Linked DNA regions of Homo sapiens: regions 1, 2 and 3 are each linked to region 4. Evidence: promoter capture Hi-C in 16 types of primary human blood cells and fetal thymus (Javierre and others, 2016). All regions are on one chromosome and are shown on one strand. Each heading gives the region's core, a stretch centred on a gene start or on the middle of the fragment in contact. The rest is flanking DNA. Distances are from core to core; before and after follow the strand shown.

Region 1 (3,731 bases), core at 1,232-3,731, 390 kb after region 4:
TGTAAATACCTTGCCATAAGAGTAATAAGCAAAATTGATTTAGTATATTTTTGAACAAATGCATTTTTGCTAGACCTTTAAAGTTTAAGGTTTCTATGGGAGAGTCCAACTATGTTCTACAATCTACATTTTGGATTTTTAATTTTTACTAGTTTACTGCTTATACAAATCTGAAAATTTAAAAAATTAAAAAACAACCTTTTTTTTTTTTAAATTCCAGATGGAGATCTTATAACAATTTTTGATAGTTCTGACCTTTCCTTTGCAATTCAGTGCAGTAGGATACTGAAACTGACATTATTTGGTGAGTAGTAAACTTTCTAATGAATTTACTATTTTATTCATTGTATTTTAAAGATGTTTGGCTTTTTTCCTTTTAAAGACTCAGGTAAGCAATAACTTATTCAAATATTATTACATTTATTTGTGTTCAGGTAGTTGTTTTAGATTACTTGAAGCTTATGGCTGTGTATGTTTTTAAGAAAATGATAGAAGTTTAATTCAGTAAGAACAGAGTGTTAAGTATGTTTTTTTTGAAATCAGGTATAACTTAGGTATCCCTGGTGCAGTATTATAGTTTTAATTTAGCTGTATTAGAATTTTTAAATTGTAATTATCTTCCTTCACATTACAGTATGTTGTTACTTATTATCAGGGCTTAACATGTAAGTCTGATACTTGAAACCAGTAGTCGCCAACCTTTTTGCACTGGAAACTGGTTTCGTGTAAGACAGTTCTTCTATGGAAGGGGGCAGGAGAAGGTTTGGGGATGAAACTCTTCCACTTTGCATGTGCAATTCACAATAGGGTTCACACTCCTATGTGAATCTAATGCCACTGCTGAACTGACAGGAGGCGGAGCCCACCACTTAACCTCCTGCTGTGCTGCCCAGCCCGGTTTGGTTCCTAACAGGCCACAGAGTAGCACTGGGTTGGGGACCCTTGCTTTAGACAGTATTTCCCGAGGGGTACTTAAAGATTAAAAATAGTTCTGATAAAAACCAATAGAAGACTAATTTTAATCTTTTAGATTTTTTCTTTTAGATCTTAATAGATATGCAAGGCAGAACTCTTAAGGGACAAGATAGAAAAGATTACAGAGTTAAATGGTAGTGTGATTATGTGAAAAATAAAATGTGTACACTTTTTCCGGCTGTTTTGTTGTTTTGTTTAGCATTAATTTTATTTTTTTTTAATTTTGTTGCATGAAACTTAGAGTTCAGTGTGAAATATGATCATGGTCTATTGATTTAATTTGTATCTATTTCATCTCCATCTAGGAAGGATGAATATGAATAATCAGAATTTAAATGTTAATAACAAAAACTGTTTAAAATTATTTAAAATAAAGGTATCTTTTTACAGTATTGAATGTAAAATACTTAACTATTGACTAGGCATAAAGCAGATTAGATAATCTGAAGACCCTTACTTTAAACAGGATCTGCTAGATAAACTTACAAATGTGTTTTCTGAATTCTGTAACTCAGCTTGCACAGGAAAGTAAGGGAAATATCCAGGGAACAAAAAAGTAGAGGGAACTAAAGGCCTGATGTACCAAAAGCTGAAACTTGGGGTGTTCTTGGTGGTGATAGTAGAGATTTTAGCCTGCATAATTTAAGGAATTGCCATCTGGTGTCTACATGGTGTAGGCCCTTGGTCCTAGTCCCTCAGTAGGCCATGCTTTCAAAAAGAATATTTTAGAAAAGTCTACCTTGATACAGGGAAAGTCAAGGAAGCTTAACTCTTATACCTTGGGCCGTCAGGGGCTTGGGAAGTCTCCCTTCAGGATTCATAATTGTGGTCCTTAGGTGAGTTGGGTTTAAATTTAAACTATCCATGTAGTTTGGTAACTCCCAAGCCCAGATGTTACCATTTTAGAAAAATCTCAGAAGAAAGGCCAAAATCTCTCTTGAGGGGTATATTCTCAATCCAGGTCACATAGGTTTCTCACAGACAAAACCGTAAGACACATGAAGCTGTCAGGTAAGCAAGAACCACTGGACACAACTAATAGCAGGATTAGATTTTCAACAACTTCAGTTAAGATATGTGATAGTCTACAAAATTAAAAGTTATTTAAGACATAGAAGAAGGAATAAGAATATAAAAGCAGCCGGCCGTGGTGGCTCACGCCTGTAATTCCAGCACTTTGGGAGGCCAAGGCGGGCGGATTGCCTGAGTGCAGGAGTTCGCGACCAGCCTGAGCAACACGGTAAAACCCTATCTCTACTGAAATGCAAAAAATTAGCCAGCTGTAGTGGTGTGTGCCTGTAGTCCCAGCTACTTGAGAGGCTGAGGCAGGAGAATTGCTTGAACCTGGGAGGTGGAGGTTGCAGTGAGTCGAGATCGCGCCACTGCACTCCAGCCTGGGTGACAGAGTGAGACTCCATCTCAGAAAAAACAAAACAAAACGAGAACATAAGAGCAAGATGCTATTGTATTATGGAAAAACAATAAACAGATTTTATAAAGAACTTAAAGTAACTTGGAAATGAGAAATATAATCATTGAAATTAAATACTAAGTGGATAGGTTAAACACATTAGTCATAGCTAAAAAGAGAATTAGTGAACTGAAAAGGAAATCCAAAGAAATTACAGAGTAAAGCACAAAAACACAGGCAAAAGAGAAGTTGAAAATGAGAACATCCAGAATATTTCTATTCAGAGTTTCAAGAAGGAGAGAATGGGAGAGTGGAAATACATTGAGGTAATGACTAAAGAAATTTTCAGAGTTATATAAAAGCTATAGACCCTCAGATTCAGAAGGCACGGGGAGCCTTGAGCAGGGATAAGTAAAAGTAAATCCCCACTGGACATATTGTCATGAAACTGGAAAATGTCTTAAGACAGAGAGATTACCTTAAAAGTAGCCAGAGAGAATAAGACTGATCACATATGAAACAATTAGACTGTTAGTAGACTTCTTCATAGTAATAATAGAGGCTAAAAGACAGTATTATCACAGTTGCAAACAGTAAAGAAAAATAACTAGAAAAGTAGCATCCTATACTCCACTAAATTTCACGAATGAGGAGAAGTAAAAATACTTTGAAAGACTGAGAATTTACCACTCATGGACCCTTGTTAAAATAATTTTTAACAGTGGTCTTCATCAAGAAGGAAATTTAGTCCAGAAGGTGGTGAAAGATGCAAGAAGCAATGTGAGCAGATAAACTGTTGCTTGGTCAGTAGGCTATGCTTTCAAAAACTATTTTAGAAAAGCTTTTCCATTGATACAGAAAAAGTCAAGGAAGCTTAACTCTTAAACCTTGGGCTGTCAGGGGATTGGGAAGCACCAATGAAATTTATGTGTACGTTTTAATGAGCATTGATTGTTACAAAATTAATAGTCTTAGGGAATAAAAACAATTTGGGACAAAAATACTGGGCAATAATATGTAAGAAAGGAAGGGATGATAGGAATAAAAATATTTTAAGGACTTATTTGGGAGGAACATTGTAATTACCTTTAGATTTTTTTAATTGCATACTACATATGCAGAAGTATGCATGGTGTACATGTAAGAGTTATAATTGAAAAATTAGACATTGTCAGGAAAGGAGAAAAAAAGAAAACAAGGGTACCTGTTCAGTTCAGTAGAAAGTGGTGGCGGAATAAAAGAGGTAGAAAGCTCAATAGATAGAACAGAATACTAATCACAGTACACAGAAATTGACTACATATATCGGTTAAAATAATCTCTTAATGGAATTTTAAAAAAAATC
Region 2 (3,188 bases), core at 682-3,181, 480 kb before region 4:
ACTCTGTAACGTCTCCCTTTCAAGCCTCTTATTGAGATCTCTGCACTGCTCCTCCATTTTTATGAGCTCTTCATCTTTCCCTTCCATATCTAGCACACGTTTCCTGAGCTCTTCCACTTCAGCCATGATACCAGCGTTTCCATATTCTCCCTTACTGATTTTTTCTTTTATATCTTGCAGCTCCTCTTCTGCTTTTCGTAAAGACCTGTTTGTCTCTTCTAACTCATCAATCTGCCGGCTGAGTGCTGCCAGCTTTTGTTGAAGCTGGCGATTTTGACTGTCCTCATTGGTGAGCTTCGCCATAATTGTGTCTTGGTCTTGGTGAAACTTTGTGGTCTGCGTTTGCAGTTCCTTCTCTAGTCTGGTTGCCTTCTGCTCTTCCTCCTGAACTCTGGCTTCAGCAAGGGCTAGTTTGGTATGTGTTTCCTTTGCATTTGTGGTCAGCTCTTGGATTTTCTGTCTTTGAAGGGTGAGCTGTGCCGTCAGCCTTTGCTGTTCATCCACCACCATCAAAGCAAAAGACTTCAGCTTGGTCAGCTCCTCTTTCAGGGTGGTGACCCTTTTCTCCTTTTCTTGCTCCTTCTCCTCCTGAGACTTGATTTCTTGATCAATTAGCTTCTTTAATCTGAAAAATGTAAAGTGCATTTTATTTTGTGATTGATGCTTTAGTAACTCATCGAATGTACTTAAATATATATGTAATTTAGAAATTATGTAATTATATGAGCTGTGTCAGTTCATATACAATATGCAAAAGAGTTCCTGAATTTGATGACAGAGGAAAATCTTGATAAAGTTATCTTGCTTTTTTATTTGACTACCATTGATCAGTAACAGCTGCATTTCACCAGGAGCCTTAGTAAAAGAGTAAGGGCAAGAATATTTAGTTTAAATTGCTTGGGTAACATGTAATTAGTAGGCAGTCTGGCCTGAAGGCTGTGAAAATAGCCACAAGCTTGAGATGATGCAGTTAGACCTGGCTTCAAGGCCGACCCTACTCTTACCAACTAATTGATCTGGGCAGTTATTTAACATCTCTGAGCCTCAATTTCCTCATATGAAAAATGGGGGCAATAATTTTATTTACTTCAGGGGCTTTTTATGAAAATTAAATGCGGTAATTCATCTAAGATTCTCATTGTCCTGGCACATGGTAAGCATTTGGTATTAGTTGTTGCTGCTGTCTTTATTAATATGGTTATTATATTTATCAAATGGCTTGCTTGAACCAAAGTGTTCAATTAATGTTTGATGTTCAAGTCCTTGATTCTTAGTTAAGAAAAAATTTAGTCACATTGCTTAGAAGTTATGCACTTCACTGATAGACCTCTGTGCCAATTAAAACTTGGTTTGCACTAGCACAACATTATTCTAGGAACTACTTCACATATATCTTATCCTCATAGTGGATAGCAATTAAATGAGGAGAATTGAGAGACATCTGTATGGGTTTGGTGTTTTCATAACATTTGAGAAGAGCATGCGGTTTGGTAGGAAAGTGCTTATTGATGAGAGTCTGATGCTAGACATGACAGAAGAGAAACTCTGTTATCAGGAACATAATAATTCCCTCTTAAATGATGACTACTATGACATGCTATTTTCTTCTTTTATGTTTTAAATTTGTCAGCATAACAGGAGGGTATTTTACATGTAGTATAAACTATCTCTTCCACTTAAGTAGTGAGGTCAAAGTTTTAAATTTGTGGCACTCTCAATTATACTGCGAATGGGCTGATTATAGAGGATGTAATTACAGCTTTGCAGTACTGTTATACAGAAGCTAAAATAGAATGGAATCCCTAAGGAATTGAACCAAAGGACTTGTCATGGATGAAGTTATGACTACTTACATTCTGATAGGTATAGAGAATTCATAAAACTTTAATGTATCTTTTCTATTAGGAATGAGTTAATTATCAAATGCATGTCTATCATCCTTATCACAGAACTTACTTTTTGAAAGTTGTGTAAGGATTTGAGAGAACTTTTTATTTATTTTATTTTATTTTATTTTTTGAAATTGAGTCTCACTCTGTCGCCAGGCTGGAGTGCAGTGGGGCGATCTCGACTCACTGCAACCTCTGACTCCCTGGTTCAAGCAATTCTCCTGTCTCAGCCTCCCGAGTAGCTGGGATTATAGGCACGCACCACCACGCCCAGCTAATTTTTGTATTTTTAGTAGAGACAGGGTTTCACCATGTTGGCCAGGATGGTCTCGATCTCCTGACCTTGTGATCCACCTGCCTCGGCCTCCCAAAGTGCTGAGATAACAGGTGTGAGCCACCGTGCCGGCTGAGAGAACATTTTAAAAGGAAACTAATTTAGGGTCATCGTCTTGGAAATTGAGTCCTTCTTTTTGAGATTCTAATCTGCTCTTTTCTGTAATTTTCTGTAATTACATTCCATAGGAGGAACATGTTGAAAATAATTGTATAAGAATTCTGCATCTTTTTTGTGGGAGTCCACTTTTAGTTTTTTCTGTTTTGAGAACTTAACAGGAGGCTGGCCCAAGGGCTGTGGCTTATAAAATTCAGAAGATGCTAGGCAGGATGCTGGGGTGTCGTTGATGATGATCTCATCCAAGGTCTTGGCAAAAGGCTTGCCCATGGTTTCTGGCCATGCCCCATCCCTATCTGAGACACATGAGAGCCTGAAAAGATAAGCATAGCAGCTTCTTCTCAAATGGTCATGGGACTTCTCAACCCAGTGGCAGAGTCCATGGGTAAACTGCTTTGGTGGTGAAATAGTTAAAAAAAACTTTGGCAAAGTGCTTCTTTCTCCTGCCTTAGCATTAGAATTCATTCGATGTAATGGTTTTGACAATGCCTTGAGCATAATTACAGTGAAATATTTTTCCCCTCTCTACACCACAGTTCTTACAGTTTTATTAGAGAACAGTTTCACAAAAGCTTTTAAATATTTATTTTCAACTTATTAAATTATAGCATGTGCTATGTCATTTTTATGAGAAGGGGGTGTGTTTTCTTAGGATATAAGGGAGGGAAGATTGTTTTGCAGTATAATTAAAAGAGTATTAAAAGGGAATGGTGATTAGTGAGTGCAGTGCAGTAACCTGCAAAAAAGGTTTAGAAAAAAATTCAGTTGCTTCCATTTTGTTCAGTGTTTTTGGAGTAGGCATGATGCATATTTTTCAGCCTGGGGCATGTTGCGTATTTTTCAGCATG
Region 3 (3,323 bases), core at 820-3,319, 310 kb after region 4:
AAGTTCTCACTTTGGGTTTCAGACTACTTTTGGCCTGAAGGTTTCCCCCTGGGATCCACCCTTGTCTGCTTAGAGTTTCTCTGCCTCCTCCCTTTCTGACCAACACTACATTGAAAAAAAAGAAAAAGAGAACTCTACCTGCTTTCTCTCTTTTTTCCTCCTCTGTTCTGGATTACTGTTGGTTGAATATTTGTATTAAAACTCATGTACTTTATTCATAGAGGCCCCTTGTTGGTATTCACTGTATTTTTACCTTATGCACACTTGTCAAAACCCTTTTAAAACTTACATCAGCATGCATGCTTATTGTAGAAAAATAAGAAAATATGTAGTTTAGCAAAATTTAAAAAATTATCTTACCTTTATTAACCTGTTGGTATATATTCCAGGTTTTTTTCCCTCTGTTTCTGTGTGTGTGTGTGTGTGTGTGTGTGTGTGTGTGTGTGTGTGTGTGTATGTATATGTATATTACATACTATATTGATTCATAACTTGCTTTTGTCACTTAATACCTTACAAACTTTTTTCTGTAAACATCTTTTATATAAATATATACACATCTACATCATAATTTTAGTTTACTGCATTATATGTGTAAACTTTTATTGAACCAGTTCTCTGCTCAGCAACTGGACATTTACATTGCTGGAAGTCTTTTAATGTTCTAAGTAATTAGCATTCTGGTACATAATCTTTATTTACACGACCCATTATTTCCTCAGGAGAAATTCCTAGAAGTAGTTCTTAGTTTTCTAATGATTATGACAAGTACCTACTTAGCGTTGAATTTTCAAAGTAGAAAAAGCACAAAGGCACAAAATAGAGCATTCAAAGATTACAATTCTGAGAGGTGGTTGTAGAGGTTGAGTGAACAGTTTTACTGGCATACTTTGTGACTTCAGATTTCAATAGGAGTCTGGGCCCTTCTCATGGAGAATGTGGATGTCTCTCATTTTTCTTGACATATGAGAAGGAAGTGGCCATGGGGTCCAGAGTCTATGTTCAGTGAACAGAGAGGCCAAGAGCCAGAGTGGGCTCCCTTCAGAGATGAAAGCTTTGTGTTTGCAGATTCTTGCTAGACGGGAGGAATGAACGTTTTTGGTGAGAAAGCTGGGAAAAGAGAAGTTGTGGGATTTGAACATCACAGTTCACAAAAAAGATAGGAACATTTTCCTAAAAATAAATAATTATGAATTTTGCTGACTTAATATATAAAGGAAAATACAATTTTGTGTGATTTTTACACAATATCCAAATAGTTTTAAAGGAGGTGGTTAAAGGATAAATAAAAATTTAAGGTATAAGATACAGTGAACCTTAAAATGGTGTAAGCATGCTCAATTTCTCCTTTTATCACTCTGAATTTCTAGTCCAATTATTTTCTAATAATGTTCCATCAGTTTATCTTCTACCAACGTGATCTTTTGCATAAGCTCTTGTGGACTCAGATCCTTCCTTCATTCACTTAGATAAAGCTTCCTCCTCTGCTTCTAGCCCCAAGGTCAGGTCAACAACCCTTTAGCTCTCTTTAGGAGAATACTCTTGATGAGCTTCCAACAGAGGTCATCTCTCCACGAGAAGGAAATTAATTGTTGTTTAGGACAACATTTGCTTTCCAAACTCTATCTTCTGAACCTAGGCCAGATGCTGGGTTCCCTGACAGACATCAGGCCTTAGTCACCCATTTCACTTTGACTTCTTCCTTCTTTCATTCCAGTTTTCTCTTGGTATCTCTCAGCTACTGAATTGCCTTTCTATAGTATAGGGAGAAGAGGAGAGGGTGAGAATAAAAGGGAGGAGAGTGACAGAGAAGAAAGACTCTTTGACTCTGTCAAAGTGGGCAGAGCTCTGGAGGTGTAGGGTTTCTGCTGGTGAGGGCATCATAGTACAATCAATGAGTTTAGGACTTCACCTCACCATTTTTTTTTCCTTTTTTTGAGACGGAGTCTTGCTCTGTCACCCAGGCTGGAGTACAGTGGCAAGATCTCAGCTCACCACAACCTCTGCCTCCCAAGTTCAAGCAATTCTCCTGTCTCAGCCTCCCTAGTAGTTGGGATTACAGGCATGCACAACCCTGCCCAGCTAATTTTTGTATTTTTGGTAGAGACAGGGTTTCACCATGTTGATCAGGCTAATCTTGAACTCCTGACCTCAGGTGATCCACCTGCTTTGGCCTCCTAGACTGTTGGGGTTATAGGCGTGAGCCACCGCGACGGGCTGACCTCACCATTGTAGACATTGCTTGCATAGTCTGATCTGTAACCTTAGACCTTTGATCTCATATTGAAGGTCATAATTACCCTGGTTTATCTGACTTTGGGAATGCAAAATGCCTCCCTAGCACTGACCACCTGTACATTTACATTTCGCTTTTCTTTTTTTATTTCTGTTCCAGCTAGCCTGGCACCCACTCAAATATCTTGAACAAATAGAGATTTATCGTAAATAGGCATATGGGGTCTCATGGAGGCCCAAGAACTAGATCATAATATAGTGGGCCTTGTCAACCCAAAATAATCAAAAAGGTCAGAATCTAGTTTAAAGAGAGTTCGTTCAAGTGCAAAGTTTAAGGACAGCTGCCTGGGAAGCACAAATTCCAAAAAATGGAAGTCAATGTTTTGAAGTATATAAGTTTGGGATCATTTATATAAACAAAGTTTAGGGAAGCTTAAGAGAGTTTTAACGTCTTTCTATATAAGGCTTTCTATATAAGGCTTATAGTAATGCATGGTTATAGTAATCTGATTAGCTGAGGTGGTCTTTTTCTTTTGGGAAATGTGTATTTAACATTCCACACTGAAGGTGTAACAATTACACTGAAGACGTAACAATCATGAGCTAAATGGTCTGAGTTAGGTACAGGACAAAAAAGGAGGCAATTAATCTGTAACATAGATCAGTCATTAGAAAGGGGAAAGGTCTGGCCTCTCCTAGTCATTTACAGAACAAGAACAATGAGGAAGAGAGTTAATCTATAATCTAATAAGCAGAAGTTGCAAACACGCTACACGTGATTCAGTCTCCAGGGCTTAACTTCCTTTTGACATAATAAATTTAGAGGGTCTTGAAATTTTATTTTCTTTTATTGCCATATGGACCCTGGAGCAGGAAGATGACTGAGGATCCAAGGCAGCTTTGGAAGCCTTAGTAGAGGAGTTTACAGGTCTTTTCTTATTTTCAACAGGAAGAATTAGCCTCTTATTTTTAATTTGTGGTTTTTCTCACAATGATGTAATGACCTCTCTGGCTTCCTCTAAATTATGACTTTCCTGATATAACTACAGCACTAATCAAAAAAAACCCCGTTTCCAAGAATCTGATGA
Region 4 (3,606 bases), core at 1,107-3,606:
CTTTTGGTCTTGATGGCCTTCTCCTGGTCCTGCTTCTCTCTCTCTCTTTTTTTTTTTAATGGAGTCTGGCTCTGTCACCCAGGCTGGTGTGCAGTGGCACAATCTCGGCTCACCGCAACATTCGCCTCCCAGGTTCAAGTGATTCTGCTGTCTCAGCCTCCTGAGTAGCTGGGATTACAGGTGTGTGCCACCACGCCCAGCTAATTTTTGCATTTTTAGTAGAGACGGGGTTTCACCATGCTGGTCAGGCTGGTCTCGAGCTCCTGACCTCTTGATCCACCTGCCTCCACCTCCTGAAGTGCTGGGATTATGTTAATTATTAAATCTAGGAGGAGGACACAGCTGTTCCTCCACCAGGCAGTGGCGCCCGGCCTGGTCCTTCTCCTCTAATGGCTCCTTCCCAGGCTCCACAGGCCCTTCTTCTTTTGCGTGTGCCTTTCATACTCCGCTTGTGTGTTCTCATCCAAATTCAGAGCTTCCTCTTAGTTAAAACTGCTGGTGACTCCCAAGTCAATTTCCAGCCCAGACATCTTCTGAGCTTGAGGCTTTGGTCCGGTTGCCTACTGGGCATCTCCACCTGGATGCCATGGCTCATGCCTATAAGGCCAGCACTTTTTGAAGCCAAAGTGGGAGGATCACTTGAGCCTAGGAGTTTGAGACCAGCCTGGGCAACACTGTAAGAATCCACTTCTAAAAAAATGAAATAATTTGCATTTTGAACAAGCACTTCAAATAACATTTCCAGCCAGGTTTAGGACCACTATTAGTTACAATGTTAGTCCAATAAATTTGGAAATCTAGATGAATTTTTTTAACAGGTTGTAAGTGACCACAGGTTGACCCTGAAACCTCATAGGTTAATAAGCATAGCAGAAATGAAAAGGTTTTTAAAGATCTTCCTGCTACAAAGCCAAGTCCAGATAGTCTCTTAAGCTGCAGAAAGACCATAACTGCTATGTATTTCCCCCCAATTTTTTTTTATGAAAGCTTAAAATTTTAAACTTCTACAAAGTTTTAATCTAGTACCATGAACAGCTGTGTCCTCCTCCTAGATTTAATAATTAACATTTTGCCATATTTGCTTTATCTTATGTGTTTTCTTTTTGCTGACGATTTTCAAGTCAAACATTCTGATGGTTCATCCCTAATACTTCCTCATTTTCTAAGAGTAAAGAATTGTCACAAGCACAACACTATAGCACACAAAATAATTCAGAAAAGCATCAAATATCTCGTTCATATTTAAATCTCCCTAGTTGCCCCCAAAATGTTTTTATAGTGTTCTTTTACAAACCAAGATCTGTTTCAGTATAAACTATTCTGGGGCATTCCAAAAGGTGGTTAAGTTTTGGATTTTTGTTCCACAAGTCTGACAAGGCACAAAAACACAAAACACGAAAATTAAAAAGCAATCTAATAAATAAAAATGCAAAAATCATAGTCTATAGGCTGGGCGCAGCAGCTCACGCCTATAATTCCAGCACTTTGGGAGGCTAAGGCAGTAGGGTCTTGAGCTCAGGAGTTTGAGACCAGCCTGGGCAAAATAGCAAGGCCCCACCTCTATTAAAAGTAAAAAACTTAAAAAAAAAAAAAAAAGAAAGAAAGAAAGAAAAAGAAAAAAGGAAAAGAAATAGCTAGGTGTGGTGGTGTGTGCCTGTAGTCCCAGCTACTTGGGAGGCTGAGGACGGAGGATCGCTTGAGCCGGGAGGTTGAGGCTGCAATGGGCTGAGACTGCTGCACTGCACTCCTGACTGGATGACAGAGTGAGACCCTGTCTAAAACAAACAAACAAAAAAGGATATTAGCAAAGAGATGACAATGTATTCGAGGACTGACTTGTTGAGGGCATGGCGTTGAACCCTCAGCATCTTTCCCGTTGGCCTAGCAGCCTTGTAGTCAGATTTTACAGACGTCTCGCGTGCCTAAACCAACCAGGGTCATTCCGTCCCCGTCACAGAGACTTGTTCAAATAGCTCAAGCCCATCAGCATACGGTGTTAACCTGGCCACAGAGGTGATTCAACCAGCTAGAAGTTCAGTCCTTTTGCGGAGAATCAGCAAACGCTACAAATCAGGGCTTTCCTCCCTGAAAAGTCTGGTTGTTAAGACATTCACCAGCACACCACCTCGACTTAGGCCGTTCCCTTTTGCCCTTTGCCTTTCGAGGCATGCTTTTTCCGGACTGTGTTGCAATTAACCATTTCTCGTTGGTCCGTCCTGGTGTTACAGGCGCACTGGAATGAACGCAGACCCTTCTCTCCTCCCGGCCGGGGCCAGGAGGAGGGGTGGGGCGGGGCCTCTGACGCGGTCCCCGCCCCACCGTAGCGACGCCGCGGTCCGCCGGATCTCCAGCGCTCAGTCCGCGCCGCAGGTGGTGCTTGTCTGCAGAGTCATGACCTGTAAGTGGCGCGGCCGCGCGCTGCAGCTCGAGTTCGGGCCGCGGGGGAGGCTTTGGAGCGGCGCCGGCGGTGGCTCGGCCGGCTCAGCCCCTCCGCCCCGCGTCCCCGCCGTGCGCGGCCTTCCCTGAGGCGGGCGTCCGCGTGGGTCCGGGATCGCGTGGCCGGGCGGCCGGGCGCACTCCCGGGATTCCAGGCTTCCGGGGTGGCGGGCGAGGCCCAGAAAGCACCAGGCCACCCGGCCGCGCCGGCACCCGCCGCGTCCTGCTTGACAGAGGCTGATGGACGTGTATTTCTCCACGGTGTGGGCCGCGGTGGTAGGATCCAACTCCCTTGGGTGTTTTCAAGTTGCGTGACCTCCTCCAGCCCCGCCCTGCACAAAGGTGCCCAGGCGGTTCTTCGTCTCCCCACTCACTTTCCAGCTCCAGATTTTGACTTGGATTCTTGCTGTGTCACTTACTTTGTTCAGTGACTTTGTGCAGCTTTCCCCCTGCAAGTCCCCTGTTTCTTTATTTGTAAAATGATGTTAATGATACCTCACACAATGATGTTAATGTGTGAAGGACCTGGCACATTGCTTTAAATGTTATTCCTTTGTTGTTTCCTTCGCTCACAGTATTTTATTCTTTTTTTCCGCCCCTTGGTAAGGTCTTCGTTGTTAGATTATGATGAATATTAGGGCAGCCTTAAAAGTCTTCACTTTACAGATGAGATGGAGTGACGGGCGTCTCCTCCTCAGCATGAGGAACTGCCCAGTGGCGGGGTTTCCCTGCTGCAGCATGTCTGTAGAGTGGGTCATTTGCAGAATGATAGGCAGTCCTAAGCTTAGTTGAGGACCCCGCCCTTGTGGGTGAGATGTGTAGGAGAGGAAGCCATCAGCGTAGCCATGGTGAGCTTTATCTTTCCCACCCTCGGAAGCACAGACATGGCCCGGCACGTGGCTCACGCCTGTAATCCCAACAGTTTGGGAAGCTGAGGCACGAGGATCGCTTGAGTTCACGAGTCAAGAGTTGGAGACCAGCCTGGGCAACATGGCGACACCTTGTCTGTACTAAAAAATACAAAATTAGCCCGGTGTGGTGGCACGCCCCTTTAGTCCCAAACTACTTGGGAAGCTGAGGAGGGAGAATGGCTTAACGCTGGGAAATGGAGGGGAGACGTTTAGTGGATTTATCTGCTGTTCTGATAACAGCTCAAAATATCTGTTTGCC

What was found. The method cuts DNA at HindIII sites, captures the fragments that hold promoters and counts their contacts. A CHiCAGO score of 5 or more calls a contact.
Region 1: a fragment that was not itself captured here is called in contact with the fragment with the promoter of NIT2 in region 4 in 1 of 17 cell types (total CD8 T cells); the score reaches 5.3 in total CD8 T cells.
Region 2: a contact is called between a fragment that was not itself captured here and the fragment with the promoter of NIT2 in region 4, in 3 of 17 cell types (monocytes, naive B cells and M0 macrophages). The highest score is 5.5, in monocytes.
Region 3: a contact is called between a fragment that was not itself captured here and the fragment with the promoter of NIT2 in region 4, in 2 of 17 cell types (megakaryocytes and endothelial precursors). The highest score is 8.7, in megakaryocytes.

Annotation. Positions count from the first base shown.
Region 1 is chr3:100,719,755-100,723,485 of GRCh38, forward strand. TFG (trafficking from ER to golgi regulator) reads left to right here. Exons shown (of 8, transcript NM_006070.6): 3 at 221-304. Among named protein-coding and RNA genes, the nearest start is that of TFG, 12 kb to the left of the region's middle. The HindIII fragment of the contact is 1,488 bases long and covers 1,738-3,225 here.
Region 2 is chr3:99,850,446-99,853,633 of GRCh38, forward strand. All of the region lies in intron 1 of CMSS1 (cms1 ribosomal small subunit homolog), which reads left to right. FILIP1L (filamin A interacting protein 1 like) reads right to left here. Exons shown (of 6, transcript NM_001387850.1): 5 at 1-625. The region is part of intron 1 of LOC105374010 (a long non-coding RNA gene); the gene reads left to right. Among named protein-coding and RNA genes, the nearest start is that of HP09053, 28 kb to the left of the region's middle. The HindIII fragment of the contact is 1,957 bases long and covers 954-2,910 here.
Region 3 is chr3:100,638,603-100,641,925 of GRCh38, forward strand. The region is part of intron 6 of ADGRG7 (adhesion G protein-coupled receptor G7); the gene reads left to right. Among named protein-coding and RNA genes, the nearest start is that of ADGRG7, 31 kb to the left of the region's middle. The HindIII fragment of the contact is 1,192 bases long and covers 1,474-2,665 here.
Region 4 is chr3:100,332,401-100,336,006 of GRCh38, forward strand. It overlaps NIT2 (nitrilase family member 2), which reads left to right and starts at 2,357. Exons shown (of 10, transcript NM_020202.5): 1 at 2,357-2,398. The coding sequence starts at 2,392. RefSeq lists enhancers at 2,125-2,693, 2,787-2,836, 2,857-2,916, 3,037-3,116 and silencers at 2,357-2,686, 3,085-3,379. The HindIII fragment of the contact is 2,232 bases long and covers 986-3,217 here.